Linked DNA regions of Homo sapiens: region 2 is linked to region 1. The links are contacts of gene promoters, found by promoter capture Hi-C in blood cells and fetal thymus (Javierre and others, 2016). All regions are on one chromosome and are shown on one strand. The core of a region is centred on a gene start or on the middle of the fragment in contact, and the rest is flanking DNA. Distances in the headings are between cores, read along the strand shown.

Region 1 (4,622 bases), core at 1,590-4,089:
TCTTTTATATTCTTTTTTTTTTTTTGGAACAAGGTCTCAGCTCTGTTGCCCAGGCCGGAGAGCAGAGGTGTCATCACAGCTCACTGCAGTCTCGACCTCTGGGGCCGAAGGAATCTTCCCACCCAAGCCCACAAAGTAGCTGGGACTACAGGCTCACAGCACCACACCTGGCAAATTTTAAAATTTTTTTGTAGAGACAGGGTCTCACTATGTTGCCCAGGTTGGTCTCAAACTTCTGGGCTCAAGCGATCTTCCTGCCTCAGCCTCCCAGTGTCGGGATTATAGGTATGAGGCATTATGCCTGGCCTATGTTTTTTTTTTTGAGATGTAGTCTCACTCTGTTGTCCAGGCTGGAGTGCAGTGGTGCGATCTTGGCTCACTGCAACCTCCACCTCCCAGGTTCAAGCGATTGTCTTGCCTCAGCCTCCTGGATAGCTGGGGTTACAGGCACGCACCACCACACCCGGCTAATTTTTGTATTTTTAGTAGAGACGGGGTTTCACCATGTTGGTCAGGCTGGTCTTGAACTCCTGACCTTGTGATCCGCCCGCCTCAGCCTCCCAAAGTGCTGGGATTACAGGTGTGAGCCACCAAGCCCAGCCTTTTTTTTTTTTTTAAATAAGATCCAAGTACTTAATAAGATGTAACAGTCTCAATAGAGAACATCTTACATATATGGAGAAATTTCACTCAACATATCCCTTTTGTAGAATTAAAGTTTGCAAGGTAAATGATTTTATTTCTTTCTTTTTGGTTAATATTTTTTAGAGTTAGCATTTGGAACATAGTGACATGCAAGCACATGGGGTAAGATGAATTAACTATCATCAGCAGCAGCAGCGGCAGCATATAGCCTTGGATATGTTAACTTTCTGAAAGCATGGCTGTTACTTACAGTATAACTCAAATGGGATCTCTATTTGTGAAATTGTGGTGATCAGAGTAAATATATATTTTTTTATTCAATTCAGGCTACTGTGTGGTCAGACTGTTATCTGTAGGTGCATTTTAACTAGCAAATGAATCAGTTAAATGTTGAATCAGACTAGTATTTGCCGAGCCTTTAAAATTGCCATTTCTTTGTCATCACCCAAAAAGAATGTAACATTTGCCAAACTCTATTTCTGGCTCATCTAATCAGGTACTCAGGTTCTGGTGGAAGCTACTGATTGTTTCAAAGACCAGAAATTTTCTTCCTCTGAAGGAAAATAGAATATTCTTTACAGGAGAAATTTAGAGAACTATAGCAAATAGTATTGCTGTAGGGATTTTTGGATATGAAGCCAGAAATTTGGATATGAAGCCAGAGATTTGGAAATCCAAGCTAAAACTATCAACTGCATTTAGACTATTTTTTCTGTCTTTCAATAGTTCAGACAGTTGAAAGATCTCTTGGGGCAGTGAATTTTGCAGGTTATTACTAAGTAACAGCTTAAAAATGAATTATAAGCTTGTTCTTAGTTTTATAAAGTTAAGGTTAAAATACTGGCCATATTTCAAACTGAAACATAGTTTCCTGTATATATGATTTTTCTCAAACTTTTGAAGAGAGATCACAGAATTTAAGGAAACTCCAGGATTTGACTGTTAAAAACCTTATTTATGACCCCGGTGAAGGGCGAGGACAATCAATATAGCAGCTACAAAACCCAAGTTTATATTGGGAAACATGTATCTCAACTCACACCTTTCAGGGACAGTTAAGAGAAGTTTGAAAATTAAAATATCTTTGCAAATAAATTTAAAACAGTAAAAAACACGCACATATTGTTTAATAATTCATGATGCAAAGAATGCTACAGAGTGAAATCAGGATTTGGAAAGAGGTAATCAAAAACCAAAGGTTAAAAGTGGCTCATATAACTTGAAAATTTTTAGATCAATGGAATGCCACTTTGAAAAAGTTTTACGGTCAGCTGTTAATGAAATGACTTACATTTTTGGAAGGACTCCTATTCGGTATGTAGTCTGACCTCGCCTACTCGAGTAGTTCCCTCTAGTATCCTTGCCAGTCTTTGGCTTCTAAGATCTGAGAATTTCTGGGGATGGGGAGTTCGAGTCACAATATTAAGAACTAGTTTGAAGCCAGCTCCAGGGTAGTCTGTCTTTAAGTCTCCACTACTCCGCTCCAAGGTGACTCATAAGGTCGGTCCGTCAACTCTGCATTATATGGCCTCAACAACGAAATTAAAACACATACTTTAACCTCCAGAGCCTCCTTTGGCAGTGCAAATATGTCACTTCGGATCTGACTAACTACCTTTCCAGGCTGATCTTAAGCAACATTCACCAAATTACCGATACGACAGCCAGGCCCATTTCATCGGTCAAGCTCTTTCACGATTTCCAGACTCTGTTAAGCCCCTTTCTCCCCAGGGCTGTTAACAAGTCTCCACTGCGGTGAAGCTTTTTTCATTTTCCACTCCGCCTCTGCTCCTTAAATTAGGCATTTCGTCCATAATCAACTACAGCGCTTCTCAAACACCTACACCTGTATTTTAGCACTTTGGGCTCAAACGATGATCACACAGTGTGCGAGACTCTTTCCAAGGAATGAAAGGTCGATCTAGCAGGAAGGCGCCAGAGAGGCTGTTTTTGATGAGGAGGCGGTCTGAACCGTACTTGCCTAGCCTCCCGTAGCTCCGCGGGCGCTTCGAGGGTACCACGCACTGAAATGATGGGCGGGGCCTGCCCCGACCCTCCCGGCCTCCACAGGCAGGCCAGCCTCCAGGTTTCCCGGCAAGCTCCGAAACCCAGAGGAGGTGGGGAAAGGAGGTCACCGCGCCTGCGTGTTAGGAAGCGTGACCCGGGTGGGAAAACCCTCCGCGTCCGCCATTTTGGCTGCCTCTGTCGGTCTGTTCAGTTACCACGTGAACCGCCGACGGAGACCCGTAGTGGGGGAGGCGGCGGCAGCGTTAAGTGAGAAAGGAAAAAAGACAACGAGGAAAAAGGAGGTGTCCGGGTAGGGCAACGCGGCGACACCCGAGGCCTGGTGGTGGCGGCGGATCGAGATATTCAAGGCTGAAGCAGCTACGGAACGGCAGCGGCGGCGGTCGGACAAACTGACTGACCGAGCCGGGTGGTGGCGGGAGCAGCGGGAGCAGCCGGAACGATGCCGGCCGTGAGCCTCCCGCCCAAGGAGAATGCGCTCTTCAAGCGGATCTTGGTAAGTGTGAGGCTCCGGGCAAGCGGTGGGGAGGATTTAGCCGGTAACCGGGCCTGTCACCCCTAACCTCGGCCCGGCGGGCACTGAGCCACTCCCGCCCGGGACCCCGCCTTCATAGCTCTCGTCAGGCCGAATGCATTGCTTTGCTCCCTCTCTGTGGTTCCTACTATGGCCCGCGCGCCAGGGACCACAGGCTTCTTCATTCCATCCCCACGCTTGAGGCCCTGGTTCCGGACTAGGCCCCGACCTCCCGGCTTCTAGACTGCCGGTTCTCATTCTCCCCGATCTGGGGGAGAAGAGGCCCGGCCTTTGGCGGGCAAGTGGGCGACACCGGCAGGAGTCGCGGCCCGGTTGGTGTGGGAACCCTGCTGGCAGGTCGGGGTGGCACCCTTGGAAGGAACAGGTGGTGCGGATGCAGCAGGCTCATTCATTGCCTAAACGCGGTTCTCCCTCCATCATCTGTCCCTCCCTCTTCCTCCTCTCTTGGGATTCACCTGTCTCCGCCCGGCCCGGGGTCACCCAATGACCTGAGAGGAGGGAAAGAAGGAGTTCAGAGAAGGAAAGAAAGCTTTTCAAACGACTACCTCCTTGTAGTCAGTTGCATACTGGAGTCTTCAGCTCCTCTGCCTCCGTTGTTCTCGTTTCTGGAGTAGGGATGAGGCATTTATTTCTTAGTTTCCGAGCGGGAAACAGCCCCACCCCGTCACTCTTCTCGGGAGGTGGGGCCCATTGCGAGGGGGCGGTTCGGTAGGAAGTAAAAAGTTGAGTCTTTAGTTGAAACGTTGCAGACCTAGACTTTTCTTATACACTGAAGTATATTAACACATGCAAAAACTTACCAGAGAAATGAGAATATAAGAACTTTTGAGATGGATTTTGTTGACGCTAGCTCAGACTTATTCCCTACGGTTCAAATGTGTGCAGTTTGTATTTTTTTAAACCATAAATGCATTGATGTTTGCAGGGACTGTTTACATTGTAAAATATGTCCTGTAGCCTTGGAGCTATAATTAACACATTGTAGCACATTTTTTGTTTGGCATTTAGTATGTGGGTTCCCCCTTTCACGCAAACGTTTCCTTATGATAGAATTAACTGTATTTGCCAAATTTAAGACTTTTAAAATTTGGGATGTGTGTGTGAAAGTGTTAGCCTTTTCCCCCGCAGTTATAATTTATTTCACCTGTTTGAAAAGTAGAACAACTCTGGGGATTCAGTTTTTCTAGAAATGAATAATCATCCATTTGAACTAACTTTGATTTTACAAAAGTGTCCATATGCCCTACAGATTTAGTGAATTCATTTTGAAAAACATTAGAAAGTCACATGCAGTGTCGCAAAACTGTTACCTTGAAATTCTTACTGGAATTTTGTTTTGTTTTAAGACTAAGAGTGTAGGTGGAGCTGTAAAATAGTTTTAGGAAAAAAGTTACTTTTAAACCCTTAAAAAGACTAA
Region 2 (4,622 bases), core at 1,204-3,703, 6.3 Mb after region 1:
AATTAATGGTTATGGTGAGTGTTTATGAAGGTAACATGAGCTTGACTGTTATTCCAACAAAAGAGCTTACAAACAGACTTTTGGTTCTGTGTGAGATGAGCAATGAAGAACAGTAAGTACTTTCCCAACTAGTTGATAAATTAACATAAACATCCATAATCTGGCAACAATATTCTTTTGGCTCCTATCCCTAAAAAAAGCCAGTCTGCAACATCCAAAACATTTACCAAGACGAGGAAATTGCAATGATTTTCTTGTACGTTATGGAGTATTAATTTGCTGCCACCTGCTGGGAGGCAGAAATGGGTTTCCAGCATTGCTAGCTACAATTTGTCCTCAACTATTTATTTTGAAAATTTTCAAATCTATAGATGAGTTAAAAGAACATTCATATACTATTCACCTGAAACTACCAACTTTTTTGTTGTTGTTGTTGTTTTGTTTTTTTGAGACTGGAGTCTCTGTCGCCAGGCTGGAGTGCAGTCGCGCAATCTCGGCTCACTGCAACCTCTGCCTCCCGGGTTCAAGCGATTCTCCTGCCTCAGCCTCCGGAGTAGCTAGGACTACAGGCACGTGCCACCACACCCAGCTCATTTTTGTATTTTTAGTAGACATAGGGTTTCACCATGTTGGCCAGGATGGTTTCGATCTCTTGACCTGGTGATCCACCCGCCTCGGCCTCCCAAAGTGCTGGGATTACAGGCGTGAACCACTGCGCCCAGCCCAGGTTCAAATTTTTTAAATCCTTAAGGCTATCTAGTTGACAGCTGTCTTTAATGTAGATCAGTCCTCCTGCCTTTTTTTATTGTCTTCCTTATTAACCTTATTGAAAAGTCCGAACAAATCACATTCAGAATTTATCTCAGTGTTTCCTCACAATCAGATTCAGGTTAAACATTTTTGGCAAGAGCTCTACAAAAGTGTATTTCCCATAGCCTCATAATGACAGGTTCATATTTTCGCCAGTATTGGTGATGCTAGCAATTTTTTTCCCATGAAGAATCTATTAACATTTTGCAAAACACTAATGTTCCATGGAAATGTGTTCCCTAAGCTGTACTGTTTAGAAAACTTCTGAATAAAAAAGTGACATGCATGAAAGTGTTTGAGTTTGTAGAACGAAAAGCAGGTAAGGATAAACTCAATTTTAAAATTAACAAACTTCTTCACTTCTAAGGTAGCACAAACTGAGCTTTCATCAAACGTAACCCTTACCGAAACAATTGTTCAGATGAGCAACGCCAAGTTTAAAGAAAGGAAGTAAACCGTCTCAAGAACTGTCAATCTGTTTGTGTTCGATAGGCTGAGATTTGAAAGGTTTGATTCTGTGTTCTTTCTACTAGATCCTCGGCTTCATTTAGACTTGTGCTTAATTTTCTGTCATTGGCTATTGAGTCTACAATCAATCTTTGGAGTAAAAGTGGTAGTCTTTTGGTCCAAATAGTAATAATGAAAATGGTGAGACCAGTAATTCATTTTTTATTATTCTGTATTCAGTAAGAATCAACCTGTATCAAATAGCTGAAAAGGCCTGAAGCCTCCCAAATGCATATCATTACACAAATTCTGTGTGAGGACTGACATCTTGGTTTCATATACTAATTATACTGCATGGGCCCCATTTATAACCATATCTACTCGTCATTTGATCCTGGCTACTGCCGATGGATGCTATCTTCATCACATTATAGCAAACATTTGGGTGATTAAGTTTTTCTCAAAAATTCTAGATTAGCATACAACGGCTTTACTACTTATATGTCATCTAAGACGTTTTTTAAGAATTAGTTACTACTACGCCCAACGCAGTGAGGTAGCAAATATTATGCCTGTTTATTTTCATCTCCATTTCAGGCTTGCGCGCCTTTCCCCCCTCGGGACTTCCCGAGGACACCCCTGCAGCAGTGAGCCCGAGTCCTGGCTTTGGCTGCATGTTAAGAAATATTAATCAAAATGAATGCGTGCCCTTTAAGAGAAAAAAACTGTGGGTCCTTCAGCCTTTAAAAACCATGCCGTGGTTTAAAAACTTAAAACTATATTTCGGCAGAACGCTGAGCATTTCTTCAAATCACTCTGAGAAGCTTGAGTGTCTTTAATTTCACCGGTCTGTCAAACGTAACGCGTCTCTCCCTCACCCCACATTTTAAGTTTCCAAGGAGCGGAAGAAGGGCCTCCGGGGGTCCCGGCCGCCGCAGGCTGCTGGGGGTGAGGACACGACTCGGCCTCCGTCCGACTCGAGGGTGTCGCGAAGGCCAGGAGGGAACGAAAGTTACCCTCGAACTTCGGAGGCGAAAGATTTCATGTGGATCTTAAAAAGGGCAAAACCTACCCCAAAGGCCGTAAACCGCCCTCCCCTCCCCCGCCAGAGAACTTCCCGGCGCAGAGCTTCCGCAGCCTGCTGCAGGCCGGGAGACCTTCACGCTCACTCGCTCTCCGCCACACGCCGGAACTGCGCGGCCACGTCCACGGGGACCCTGGCCATGCCCCGCACCGCCACCCAGCCCCAGGCGATCCCCGGGCCCCACGCGCCTGCAGTCGGCGCTGCGCCTGCGTGGGAGGATCCGGCGGAAGGGGCGGGGTCAGGTGGCACTTCCGTGGCTTCGGGCGGGTGAGTATGGGGAGTGCGCGCGGCGTCCAGGAGTCGGGACTGGGCTCCCGCCTACGGCCGCCCTCCCGCCGGGGGGCCAGCGCGGTCCTCCGGGGCGCCCCCTGGAGGATTTGGGGTGGGGGAAGGAAAAGGAGAGTATTATCGAATATTCTCCTAATATTGATGTTCGGGGTGCGGATATGTGTGGACAGGCAGGAGTCGGCAAATGGGTTCAAATGGAAGCTTTAACAAAGAAAGGCCCTGTACGTAAACAGTGTTTTAAAATTCTCATCTTGGTTAGGTTTCTCAGGTTATCTCTGAGCCACAGCAAGGCAGCTTTGTTAAGGTGGCTCTTCCCTTGTCGCTGCCAAACCCGGTAAATGGTTAACCTGAGGCCGCGTCAGAGAAAGCCACTATGACTCCTACCAAAGAGTGAAATTGAAACTCTTTTCTGGGAAATCAAATCCAGGATATAAAAGTTGGATTCAAACTAAAAGTTACAAACAGTATCTAGGTTCCGTCACATGGCGTGCCGGGCAGGGTCTAAATCTCTTTCAGCAGAGGGCATGCTGTCTTCATATGTATTTCTCATTAGAAAATGAAAGACGACCTAAACCAAAATAATATAAAAATTTTTTATTATCTGTCTTAAGAGTTGTACCCTAATCCATATGTTTAGAAAACATAAACTAATAAAACTTTTCCAACTTGGTAGAAAGCCAAAAGTTTCCAGAAAAACTGTGTGGATTATTCAGCATTTTGCTGTTGTCTACAATGTTCAGAATATTCTTTTACAATAATTTTGCACTAAATACCGGTTTGTGTTCAGGGTAACAAGAGGTTTTTAAAAAGTCAAAGACAAGGACAGGTTTTTTAAGGGCTGTATTCTATTAGGAGAGACAAAACAAGCATGAAAAGTTACATATCCATAAGAAATGTAAATCACCATTTGAGATATTTGAAGATGTCAAAAGAAAACCTTTATTTAGAATGGAAAGAGCTGGTGAATGCTCGAAACATTTACCATTTAGCTGATTGTTGCCATGTGGGAATGGGGGTCTCTCAAACGCAGATCCGATTTTCTCCAACACAGGCCAAAGATCTGTATTTTTACGTATTTTTTCTTGATTTTTAATGTTACTTGCAACCAATTTAGTTAACACACACCTTCTGTGGGTGGGCCAGGTGCAACTAGTTTGTGACCTCTGCAGATTTTCACCTTAGTACAGTCCTACACTTACACAATGGTTCAGTTAAAGATTTTTTGACTTTACAGTGGGTTTATCCAGACACAGACCCGATTGTAAGATGAAGACTCTTTGTATTCAGAAATAATTGGAATTAGAGGTCAGAAAAAGTCCTAGAGACTGGGATGGTCAGGAAAGATTTTAAGCTGGGTAGTATAGGAGAGATATCATAGAGGGGGAAGGATGTAAAAGATGAGTTAAATCTTGGGGTTGGGAGAGTTGGCAGGTTTGGAAGATAGTAAACTCTCCTTAGAGGAATTTTGGAAAGGCAAGCGCAAGAGGTGCTGCTGGCCTGGGGACTACACTTTGAGAACCACTGTCCTAGGGTACGGTGAACTTTTGGAGGAATTTGAGTAGGAGGCTAAGGAGATCACATTCACCTTTCAGAATGAGTCTTGCTGTGAAGTCTGAAAGGAGGACTGAGGAGGGAGAGAGAAAAGAGGAAAGTTTCTTAGAGGTGATTAGCACCTGCTTGATGCCAGGCCCTGTGCCAGGCTCTCTCATGCATACTCATTTATACTCACCATGATCCTGATACGTAGATCTTAATGTTTTCATTTTGTAAGTGAAGGAACTTTGAGAATATGAGAAATTACCCAGGTTCCATAGTTGGTCTCAGAGCTTCCTAGTTCAAGCCTGGATTTGAAATAGGGTGGTAGCAGTGGGAATCAAAACATTTAATGGTGATGGAATTTAGAAAAATAGAGACTTCTCAAGCACATTTAAGCCTAAAAGTAGGAATTGGGAAATCTGAATCTTACTGGAAAAGTGATAAAAAGTAAAGTGGA

What was found. Contacts are between HindIII fragments. The CHiCAGO score rates a contact against its expected background, and 5 or more counts as called.
Region 2: a fragment that was not itself captured here is called in contact with the fragment with the promoter of NAA15 in region 1 in 5 of 17 cell types (non-activated CD4 T cells, fetal thymus, total CD4 T cells and 2 more); the score reaches 9.8 in non-activated CD4 T cells.

What each region holds. Positions count from the first base shown.
Region 1 is chr4:139,298,666-139,303,287 of GRCh38, forward strand. It overlaps NAA15 (N-alpha-acetyltransferase 15, NatA auxiliary subunit), which reads left to right and starts at 2,840. Exons shown (of 20, transcript NM_057175.5): 1 at 2,840-3,166. The coding sequence starts at 3,113. It overlaps NDUFC1 (NADH:ubiquinone oxidoreductase subunit C1), which reads right to left and starts at 3,812. Exons shown (of 6, transcript NM_001184989.2): 1 at 3,751-3,812. RefSeq lists enhancers at 2,231-2,350, 2,831-2,890. The HindIII fragment of the contact is 1,328 bases long and covers 2,405-3,732 here.
Region 2 is chr4:145,616,800-145,621,421 of GRCh38, forward strand. MMAA (metabolism of cobalamin associated A) reads left to right here and starts at 2,586. Exons shown (of 7, transcript NM_172250.3): 1 at 2,586-2,608. RefSeq lists silencers at 2,415-2,854, 2,885-2,954. The HindIII fragment of the contact is 749 bases long and covers 2,080-2,828 here.